2 separate regions of the Homo sapiens genome follow, and region 1 is linked to region 2. The links are contacts of gene promoters, found by promoter capture Hi-C in human tissues and cell types (Jung and others, 2019). All regions are on one chromosome and are shown on one strand. The core of a region is centred on a gene start or on the middle of the fragment in contact, and the rest is flanking DNA. Distances in the headings are between cores, read along the strand shown. Region 1 has its middle 4.0 kb from the start of PODN. Region 2 holds the start of CPT2 (carnitine palmitoyltransferase 2).

What was found. The method cuts DNA at HindIII sites, captures the fragments that hold promoters and counts their contacts. A contact is called where the count stands out against the background at its distance.
Region 1: a fragment that was not itself captured here is called in contact with the fragment with the promoter of CPT2 in region 2 in 1 of the 25 tissues and cell types used here (hippocampus).

What each region holds. Positions count from the first base shown.
Region 1 is chr1:53,055,457-53,061,032 of GRCh38, reverse strand. No RefSeq gene overlaps it. Among named protein-coding and RNA genes, the nearest start is that of PODN, 4.0 kb to the left of the region's middle. The HindIII fragment of the contact is 3,998 bases long and covers 1,718-5,576 here.
Region 2 is chr1:53,194,131-53,199,704 of GRCh38, reverse strand. CPT2 (carnitine palmitoyltransferase 2) reads right to left here and starts at 2,881. Exons shown (of 5, transcript NM_000098.3): 1 at 2,610-2,881. The coding sequence starts at 2,761. RefSeq lists a silencer at 2,538-2,897. The HindIII fragment of the contact is 8,890 bases long and covers 1-5,574 here.

The DNA.
Region 1 (5,576 bases), core at 2,467-4,966, 140 kb after region 2:
CACTGGCAGAGCTGGGGTTTTGACCCCAGGTTTACCCTTCTCCACAGCCCAAGTTCTTCCCATGATGGAAACAGGCAGGTAACTTGAGCAGGCAAATGTAGAGTCTAGATTTGAACCCAGGACTGTCTGTTTCCATTACACCAACAACCCAAGAACTTAGCAAGAATGGGGAGGGAAAATATTTTGCCTTCTTTGGCCTCAAATTCCAGTCCTTTTGGAGCTCAAACTCACAAGAGTTGGTGTGATTCACAGCATTGGACCTGGACCAACAGAGATGCATCTCGTGTCTTCTCCTGAACATTGAGCCTAGATTCAAGTAGAGCTAAAAGGACAGGATTCTACTAGCTTGAATACTCATGGACTAAAAATCTTTTAGGACAATGAGAGCCAGCACATATTGAGTGCCTAATAAATGACAGGCACCATCCTAAATCCTTAAAATATCTTAATCATCCTAGCCCTGTGGGGAAGATATTCTCTATACTTATAACTGCTAAGGCCAAGGTGTTTCAGGGGCCCGCTACACGGCACACCACACACCCAGTACCCACCACCTCCCAGAGAAATAGGCTTTTCTATGGAATGCTGAGCAAATGCCCATGTGTGCTTTGTGGTTGGCTGCTACTATAGATACAAGCTGCAGGAGGAATCACTTTGAGTGTCTCTGGTGGAAAAATGGAGGCAACCTTGGTGCTCTAGAAGCAAATCCTCTTTCAGAAGGATTGTAAAGGCAGAGTTTGAAATTGAGGTTTCCTGAATCTACTTGTGCTGCTTCAATTCCTTCATGCTGCCCCTCAATTTCAGCTCCTGTTTGATATTACTGAAGTACATAGTGTCAAGTACAAGCTTTAAGCTTGGAGCTGGGTTCAAATCCTAGCTAGGTTCAAATGAATATAAAAATAGTACCTACACTTCACAGTATGTCTAAATTGGAGAATGCAAGTACAGAACTTTACATAGTACCTGTCACATGGTAAGTGCTCAGTAAATGGTAGCTATTACTGCAAAACTATCACCCAGACCTGACCAAATAGCCAGGAAACATTATTAAAATAGAAATGACAAGTGGCAAGAATTAAACAGTAACCTCTGTACTGCCCAGGGAAAGTGCCTTCTAATTCAAAACAATAAGAAACAAGAACACTCCAAAGAGGAGGGAGGAAAGACATACATTGATACGGTAGAGAGAGCTAGGAGTAAAGAACAAGAAGGCTCTCAGTGGGGTTTGATGATGAGAAACAGGAGATGAGGAACAATGAGCTCTTGTTATGCCTCATCATCAAAGAAGAAAATAATTCCTCCTACTTTGAGCTGAGGGCTGAGATCTTATTAAGCAGTAGAGTCCCAAATAGCTATGGCAGCAGCTTGATTTTCTGGACATTTAAGGAATCAAATCACATGGTGGTGTTTGGGGTATATGAATTCCATCTGAAGGACCTTGATGAAGGCAAGACTCTCCAGGGAACAAGAAGAGAATAATGAAAAATCTTCAGTCCAAGTCAAGTACACAAGGAGTCTCCTGGGCTGCTATAACATCTCATACAGACTCTTTATTATTGGAACTTTCTTGCTGTTTTTCCTCTTTCTCCCACTGGATTGTGAGTCCTCCAGGGCAAGAATCTCATGTTCTGCAAGCTCTCCTCTCTCACCCTAAAATACCACTGTGATAGGCAGAATACCCCCCAACCCCGCCCCAAAGATATCCACACCTTAATCCCTAAAACCTTTGGATATGTTACATGATGAAAGTGACTTTGCAGATGTAACTAAGGTTACGGACTTCAAAATAGGGAGCATATTCTGGATTACCCTGGTGGGCCTAATCACATGAGCCCTAAAAAACAGAGAACTTTCTCTAGCTGGAGAGAGAGAAGATGAAGCAGAAGAGGAGGTCAGAGAGATTTGAAACATCAGAAGGACTTGACTAGCTTTAAAGATGAAGAGGGTCATAAGCTAGGGAATAAGGCAGCCTCTAGAAAGTGAAACACCCGTAGGCTGCCAGGAATGGTACAGGGACTTCAGTCCTACAGCGGCATGAAACAGAATTCTGCCAGCATCTGAATGAATGTGGGAGCAGAGCCACCTTCTCCCCTGGAGCCTCTAGATAGGAGCCCAGGGCAGCAATACTTTGACTTCAGCCTTGTGAGACCCAGAGCAAAGAAACCAGTCAAACTCAACCAGACTTCTAGGCTACAGAACCGTTAGATAATAAATTTATGATCACTACTTTGTGATCATTTGTTTCATCAACAATAGAAAATAAAACAAACATGAATAACTAAAACTGGTACACACTTTCCCACACACTGTTTCACTTGATCTTCACAGCAAACATGATGGTATTATTGCCCCATTATTTTGGAAAAGGGGTGCTCAGGGAGGATATGCAACTTGCTCAGGTGACCCAGCTAATGAGTGCTTGAGTCAGAATTCAAACTCAGTCTTCAGGTTCCAACTCCAGTGAGAGTTGTCTCCCACACTGTAGCCAGCCAACTAGCTGTTACCTTAAGCTAAATAAAAATGGATGAAAAAAAGACAAAAAACAAATTCAGACTACTTTCATACTACAAAAACTTGAAGCTTTTGAATTCTCATTTCTTTTGAAGACTGTTTCTTCCAAAGGTATGTCATGTTTCTTCCAAATTAAGTTATGAACCAGTCAGGGTATAAACAAGTAAGCAAAAAGATCTCAAGTCTTCTTTCTAGCATATAGAAGAAAAAAAGATTTTGGTAACTGCAAACGGAGAAACCCTCAAGAGCGGCTGTCAATGAAATACCACTTTCTCCTGTTCAGATGATCTTTCAGCCACTATTAAGGTACATCTCCCACAATGAAATGCCCTGTTTTTGCCTTGTGGGTCTAGAAGCATCTCTGTGGTTGGAGCTTCTAGTCCACTCATGACCGATTTTTATTGTCTGGAAATTCAATGGTATTCAGTCTGAAATTTCTCTTTCTATATTCCTTCCCCTTACTTCTAATAACTAAGCAAAATAATTCCTCTCCCTCTTTGGTCTTTCCATCTCTCGAATATTCGTGAACTGATATCACACCCTGCGTTTGGGTATCATTTTGCCAAGCTTAAGTCTTCTTTCAGCCTGCCTAGTCAATTGTTCCTATACTACTGTGTCTTCGTGTCAAGTTATTTTCTATTTCTGTTCTAATAAAGTGTCTAATCTTGAACAGAGTGCTCTGTACACAACAGAAGGTGCCATATTCTAAAAGGTGAATCACACAACAACTTCCAGAGAGAGAAAAAAAATCACTGTTTGGTAGTTGGTTAGACAACTATCTGCAATTTAAATAAACAGCAGACTACAATTTCCCCCAGTTCTACATAAAAGTTTATGGCCATAAATTCAGAAACAAAAAGGTCAAGCACTTACTACATGCTGCTGGAAACAGTACTGTGAATATTTACAAAGTGTTTAAATGACCATTAATAGAATAGATAGACCAAATGCACATGACTTTTTGCAATAAGCTTTCATTACATTTTTAAAAAATTATTTCCCCTAGAAGTCTGGCTAAAATTCCATACCAAACTAAACTTCCAGCCAAATGGAACAGACTCCACATTTCTTAGGGGCCAGAAATCTGGCCCAATATTCTTTGTTCTTACCAAGAACTAAAGAGCTGTTTGTTCGCAGCAGTCTCCAGATAGATATAATACGAGACTGTTCCAGAAGATTTTGTAACTCTCTATTGAGAAAAACTCTAAAATTTGGCCAGATATGGCTGTGGTTCCTAATAGCTCATAAATCTTTCAGGCCCCTCATTAGCTGTTTAGTACCATACTCAACATTCCTAATTCATATCAGTGTGGTTTCTAAACAAGCTTACTCCCACAGAGTAATTTGCCCAGAGGTACCATCTGGCTGATTACCATTTTTTTTCCTAGTCAATAACATCAAGTGACTTCTTTCTGTTCAAAAAGTAATCATGGCATGGGCAGCTAGAATTAAATCTTCGGCTAAAATGCAAACCTTCTGAAAGTCAAACTAAATAATTCTATATCCATTCACTTAAGTATAGAGACCATTAAATTTTAATGGTTCTTGAGGAAAACATAAGGATGTAAACAGTTAATAAAAGCAAATTGTCCTCATTCTGAAGCCAGCTGATTATGTGAACTCAAATGATTATCATGGGCCAGGCATGGTGGCTCACGCCTGTAATCCCAGCACTTTGGGGAGGCAGAAGGTGGGAGGATCACAAGGTCAGGAAATCGAGAACATCCTGGCCAACATGGTGAAACCCCATCTCTACTAAAAAAATACAAAAAATTAGCTGAGTGTGGTGGTGCACGCCTGTAGTCCCAGCTACTTGGGAGGCTGAGGCAGGGGAATTGCTTGAACCAGGGAGGCGGAGGTTGCAGTGAGCAGTGATTGCACCACTGCACTCCAGCCTGGGTGACAGAGCAAGACTCTGTCTCAAAAAAAAAAAAGATTATCACAAAATGTTCCAATGAATAAATTTCATGTTAAAAAATTCCTTAAATAACATTTTGCAGCATCTACTCAGTACCTACTATGTGCTTGACATATTACAACTGCAATTGCTCATCTTCCTAACAACCAGGAAGGCAGACATTATGAGTCCCTTTTCACAGAGGGAGAAAGTCTCAGAGTCTTTCCTTGTTATTAGCTCAAGGTGGTCCCAAAGTTGTGTAAGTGCCAAAGGTAGAAACAAAACTCACATCTGATGGGCCCCAAAGTTTTCCCATTATACCAGGCTGTTCTAAATGTACTATTTTCTTTCTTTCTTTCTTTTCAGACAGCATCTTGCTCTGTTGCCCAAGTTGGAGTGCAGTGGCATGATCTCGGCTCACTGCAACCTCCACCTTCCGGGTACAAGTGATTCTCCTGCCTCAGCCTCCCAAGTAGCTGGGACTACAGGCACGTGCCACCACACCTGGCGAATTTTTTGTATTTTTAGTAGAGACGGGGTTTCACGATGTTAGCCAGGATGCACTCGATCTCCTGACCTCAGGTGATCCGCCCGCCTCAGCCTCCCAAAGTGCTGGGATTACAGGTGTGAGCCACTGTGCCCAGCCAAATGTACTGTTTTCTGAGACTGCTAAAGTTTCAGAAGATAAAGCTGTTAATTGTAGGATTTAATTTCATTTTTTTTCTAAGATGACATATGTGGGGAAAACAGAGGGAACTTATATTTATATGTGATTGACCCTTTCACAAAGTATTTTACAATTTAAAAATACCATTAATGATCATTGTCTAACCCTTATTTGTCCGAGAAACAGTTATTGATGCTGCTCTGGTGGACACTGCATTAATACTAGAGACACAGAGATGAGTAACAGAGTTACTGCATTCAAGATGTATACAGTCTAATGAGACTGACTGTAAAAAAAAAAAAAAATTCAACAGTGTCCCTCCTTTGCAGAGGCAGAAACTAAAACTAAATGCTGGTGAGGCTTAAATGCCTTACCCTAACTTAGCTTCCAGGAGGCAGAGACAGGACTTTTTGACCTGAAATTCCTCAGTGACTCCTTTGTCATACCCCCACCTCTACATGGACTTGACATGCTAGCAATGCTTTCCATTATTTTTCCTCT
Region 2 (5,574 bases), core at 1,632-4,131:
CACAGATCCCCTTACATTCACTGACTTACTCAGAAAAATTCCAAATACTATCTCAGCTACCTCATAATTCCAGTTGCCTACATATGTTTAAGATTTAGTTTTATTACAGTAGGAATATTCATGAAAGTTTACCTTCTTCCTTTTAAACAAAATTCTAGATTAGAGACAATGGCAATTTGATTTAAAAAAGTCCTACTTAAAAATTTCTGGAGTGAAGCTGGGCACGGTGGTTCACACCTGTAATCCCAGCACTTTGGGAGGCCGAGGCAGGCAGATTGCTCGAGTCCAGGAGTTCAAGACCAGCCTGGGCAACATGGCGAAACCCTGTCTCTATAAAAGATACAAAAAATCAGCCAGGCATGATGGTGCATGCCTGTGGTCCCAGATGGGAGGCCAAGAGCAGATCACTTGAGGTCAGGAGATTGAGACCAGCCTGGCCAACATGGTGAAACTCCATCTCTACTAAAAATACAAAAATTAGCTGGGTGTGGTGGCACATGCTTGTAATCCCAGCTACTTGGGAGGCTGAGGCGGGAGGATCCTTTGAACCCGGGAGGCAGAAGTTGCAGTGAGCCGAGATAGGGCCACTGCACTCCAGCCTGGGCAACAGAGCGAGACTGTCTCAAAAAAACCAAAATAAAACTGTGGCTCAATGAAGTGAACAGAATTGCCCCAAATTATAGCTAAAGACTTGCAGATCCAGAATCTGCAACTACATTCTACCAGACCTCAAAGTCAGGGCTTTTCACCAAGTGTGACATCAATGAGTGAGTGTGAAAGATTATACATTTTACCAGTCTAGAATCTGAGCGACAGAAGGAATCTCATCTCTCATCTAACTCCCAATTTACAAATAAGGTAATGGAGGTCTGGGGGAGGTTGGTTGCTTAAGGTTATGCGTAGGTGACTAGTGGTACTATTTGAACTGGAGTTTGAATTGGTACCTCCAGATTCCTACAGACTGTGCTATGGATGGGGTTGGAATAAATAATCTTGAATATTCTTTCCAGCTTTCCAATTCTAAAGTGCAGAAAATCCCTCTGATCTTAAACCTGGGTGGGGCCCAGGCCTGCCTGAAAGTCAGTGACCATCTGACTCTGAACTTGGCAAGTGAAGACAGGTTCTGTCAGTCCTCACCTTTCACCCATATACTGGCTCAGCTCATACACACAGGTTGACAGGGTGGAAGCATGTACCAGGCTTATGCCACAGGCACAAAGCCCCTTTTTCTTCCTCCCTCCTGCCACGTGTAGATAATCTCATTTTCATGTCTTAGATGTTTGCACAAAATGTAATTTCACAAGAATCACTCGATCCTCCTGAGAGGGTGAGGGTATGTAGTGATGACGTTGGGTTAAGTGGTCCCAGATGCAGAGAAAAACAACCCAGCAGCTCGGGTGAGGCCTGTGACACAATGTTCCACACATGGGGAAGAAGCCTGGCCTCTAGCTCTTGGAGTGTGGGGAATCCCTGAGGGCAGTTTGGTGAGAAATAAGGTGAGAAGGGTCTTTGAGACAAATTTTGAACTTGGCTCCAGGAACTGAGTTACTCACTCAGTAAGTTAGAAGTTAGTTTAGGTTTGGTTTAGAGGGTGAAGAAAATTTCTAATATTGAAGAAGGAGATCTGGCAACTCAGACGAAAGCGGAGTTCGAAGGCTGGAAGAACTGGAAGCTGGATTTAAGAAAGTACTGGGGGAGGGAAGGGGAAGAGGATTTACTAGGGCTCTTTTCAGAGGGGAAGTCGATTCTGGGTGAAGTGTTTCGAAGGCAGGGTAGCCAGTGGTGAGGAGGAGAAGAGAAATTTGGGTGGACCCTGGATCTGAGTATGATGGAGTGTGGATGGGGTACTGAGGGTGGTGTCTAGAATTCTGTGAGGGTGAGCTGCACTTACAAGGGGTACTGTGGGTGAGGAAGGATATTTTGAGGGGAGGAACCTGTTGAGGAGGGCTTGGAGAGAGTGAAAGGTTTCCGGGTGAACACTGGATTTAGGAGATTAAAGATTTAAAAACATGGGGGAGGGTCAGTTGAGGACAAGGGTGAACACTTCAGGGCTGTGCTTGTGGGGGCTCATGGGGGGTGAAAGAACAGAGTACTGGAGAAATGGGAGGTGGGGCTGAGGGTCCTGAGTGACAGGGGTGAAGGCGGTGCTGGGAGAAGTTAAGGAATGGTAACCATGATGTATTAGGAATCAGCCTACCCATATTCCGGGTAGGAATGTGAGGCAGTCATTAAAGTACTTCAGGAGACACCATAGTCGAGGGATTACAGCGGCGCTGGAAATATGCAGGTCTGGCATTTTTCAGGGAGAAGAGGACTCAGGATAGCTGGCTGGAAGTTAGGTTAAAGGAGAGGGAATCTGAGAAGCGTTCAAGATGGAGAATCTGAGATAGCATCGAGGGGTTCTGGAAGAGAATTTGAGGGTTCTGAGGTTCCTGTGCTAGGAGATTGTGAAAAGTCCCAAGACTTCCAGATTAGGGGCTGTGGCAGCCTCCATGGTAGGGGCTTGGGGGCGGAAACGGGTTCACTAGAGGAGTCATGAGTGACTGCAGTCAGGTTGGGGCCGATCCTGGGACGGCGGCGGGCGGCGGGGACCCGGAGGCCAGGCTCACCTGGGCAGGCTGTCCTGGTAGTGCATGGTGGGCACGATGCTGCGCTGCAGGTACTGGCCGGGCCCGGAGCCGGCGCTGAGGGGCCGACTGGGGGCTCCCGGACCAACCGCGGGGCCCCGGGGCCAGGCGCGCAGCAGCAGGCGGGGCACCATCGTCCCGGGAGCCTGCGGCGGCGAGAACGCGGCAAGTGGGGAGTTCTGGAGTCTAAACACAAGGCCGCCGCCGCCGTTAGCGCCCAAGACACTGCGTCAGGACTCCTGAGGCACTTCTCCGCCCGCAGGCCACTTCCGGCCCCTGTAAGGCCATCGGCTCCGCCCCGGACTGGCTCCTTCCGGGCAGGGGCCGCTCACTGACAGGCCCCGCCCACTAGTAGGCCCCGCCCGGAAGGGGGCCCCAGCCTCCGCGCTGCTCGTCTCCCTTCCCTTCCCTAGGAGGCGGGAAACCGAGCGCCGCAGCCGCTCCTTCCCCTTTTTTGGAGCAAGACAGAAACTGGAGTTGGAAAAAAAAAAGAAAAGCTAAGAAACGTGATTGGAATCTGATAACCCAAAATTTGATCCAGGCTCCATCCTTGCGAGACTGTGGACTAAATTTTAAACCTCTATTTCCTCACCTAAGAAGTAGATAGATCGTAATGATTCAAAGTACCTCCCAAAATTCTAGATATGAGATAAAGATAACATGTTATGCACAGTGCATGGTGCTTAATAGGAAAGCAGTAAACGGTAACGGATGTTACTGTTGTTAGTAATCCGTGCTGAAGGTCATTGACATATAATGACCCTGAACCCTGCACAGCTACTGCCCTGCCAGCTCACCTGAGTGGATGGATATTAGAAAGGATTTGTGCAGGAGTTGGAAACCTGGAGTTTCCCGCTGGCCACCACTTCAGTGCAGAAAGCCCCTTCCGAGCGGAATCCCCTCTGCCTGAACATCCATTCTTGGCTTGAGCATTTCCAAAAACAAGAAGCTCACTGCTAAGAGGAAAGAAACCCTTGTCCTCCGGCTCTAGGAAGTCTTCCGTGTTCAGTCTATTGGAAGAGGCTTCCTGTCACCACAGACCACCTCCAAGATTCCTTCCAACTCCTGACTCTAAGATTCCGCTACTTGAACATAGATCTATCATCCCTCATCCATCACAAAACAGCTGCAGAACAGCCCACCACGCCCCAATCCCTGATCTTAGAAGTAGCTGCAGGATTAAGTAGGCTCTACTCCCATTTTACAGAAGAAGACAGGGAGTTACCAAAAGACACACAATTATGCTGCCTAGCTTGAGGCACAACAGAATTCCATTTTGGGAACAGAACTGCCCTTTAGCCGTTTGGGGCAGCCAAGTACATTCTGTCTGTTCCATAATTGGCTAAGCAGAGCCAGAAGCTGGAGCACACCAGAAAGAGTACTGGATTGGGAGTCAGGAGACCGGACTTTTAGTTTCAGCTCTTTGTTATCTAGTTAGGTGACCTCGGATTGAACAGGAAGATCACTAACCAGCTCTGGCACTCATTCAGTGGTGATCACAAATGCTTAACCCATTTCCCGTTTAGAAAAAAACAGCGCAGCTTGCTGCCAGCTCTTATTTCTTAGGGCAAATGGGAAATGGCTTAAGAACTAAGCATGAAATTCAGAAACACTGAATATCGAATCCTCCTCTCTTGAGGGGAGAAAAGGCCCAACTGGCCCAACTCCAAAACATCGGTGCCATTTGCCTGTAGTGTATAAGGCCAGAGGGAGAATATAAAACTCTTTCTGAAAATGAGCCATCTCCTCTAAATCCTGATCATTTTCAGAGCCTTGATACCCGAGGCAAATATCGAGATCTGTGTAGTGCTAAGGGGATCAGAGGACCAGGAAGAAATAGTGGGCCCAGTAGAAAAGCAGCGGCTCTATTCTAGAGACAGAGGGCCAAAAGATTGAGCCCATCCAATCTAACAGCCAAAAGAGGGACGTGAACACCTTTGGTGAGTGCATGGCCAATGGGAGCAACTCTAAGCCTTTAGGCTGGTGTCCAAGGCCTTCTGAATTCTGACCCCTACCTACTTCTCCAGCTCCCATCATGTCACCCCAAAATACTCTATGCCAGGGGTGTCCAATCTTTTGACTTCCCTGAGCCACACTGGAAGAAGAATTGTCTTGGGCCACACATAAAATACACTAATACTAATGATAGCTAATAAGCAAAAACAAAACAAAATTGTAAAAATATCTCATATTTTAATAAAGTTTACTAATTTGTGTTGGCCTCATTCAAAGCCATCCTGAGCTGTGGGTTGGACAAGCTTGCTCTATGCTGTAGTAACACTGAACCACTTCTCATTCCCATCCTTTTCCTTACTCTGCGACTTATTTATTTATTTATTTTAGCTGTCTCTGCTGCCTGGAATGTTCTTTCCATGCATCTCTGCCTAGTAAACTCTTACTTGTCCTTCAAACCCTATTTCAAAACTCACCTCTTTGAAGTCTTCCTCAATCCTCATCCTTCTTCCTCACTGCAAGAATGAATCCCTCCCACTGTGATTTTACAGCACTTTTTACATTCATTTACAGTTATGTACATGAAACACAACTGTATTAGGGCTTTTAAAATAATCAGCTATTTAATTACCAATTCATCTCTCACAATAAATTTTGAGGTCTTTGGGCAGGGACCTTGTTTCCACTGTGTGTCCACTGTGTCTAGCACAGGCCTACTGTGGGGAGGTGCTTTGCTTCCTTTTCCTGGGGATGGCCCTGGGGTCTGGATCACATTAAGAATAACCATGAGCTGGTAGTCCAAAAAGTCCATATATTGCTGTGTAAGGGTCAAGAAAGTTCCTCTACTTAGAGAAAGATCCTGAAGAATACATTGTTTCTATTGAACTAATCCCCAGAGTTCTGCTCTGTTTTGAATTAACTATGAAAAAGCAGTACATGATGGCCAGGTTAAAGTCATATTCATCTTCAAAATCAAAGTTCTGAAAAACAATGA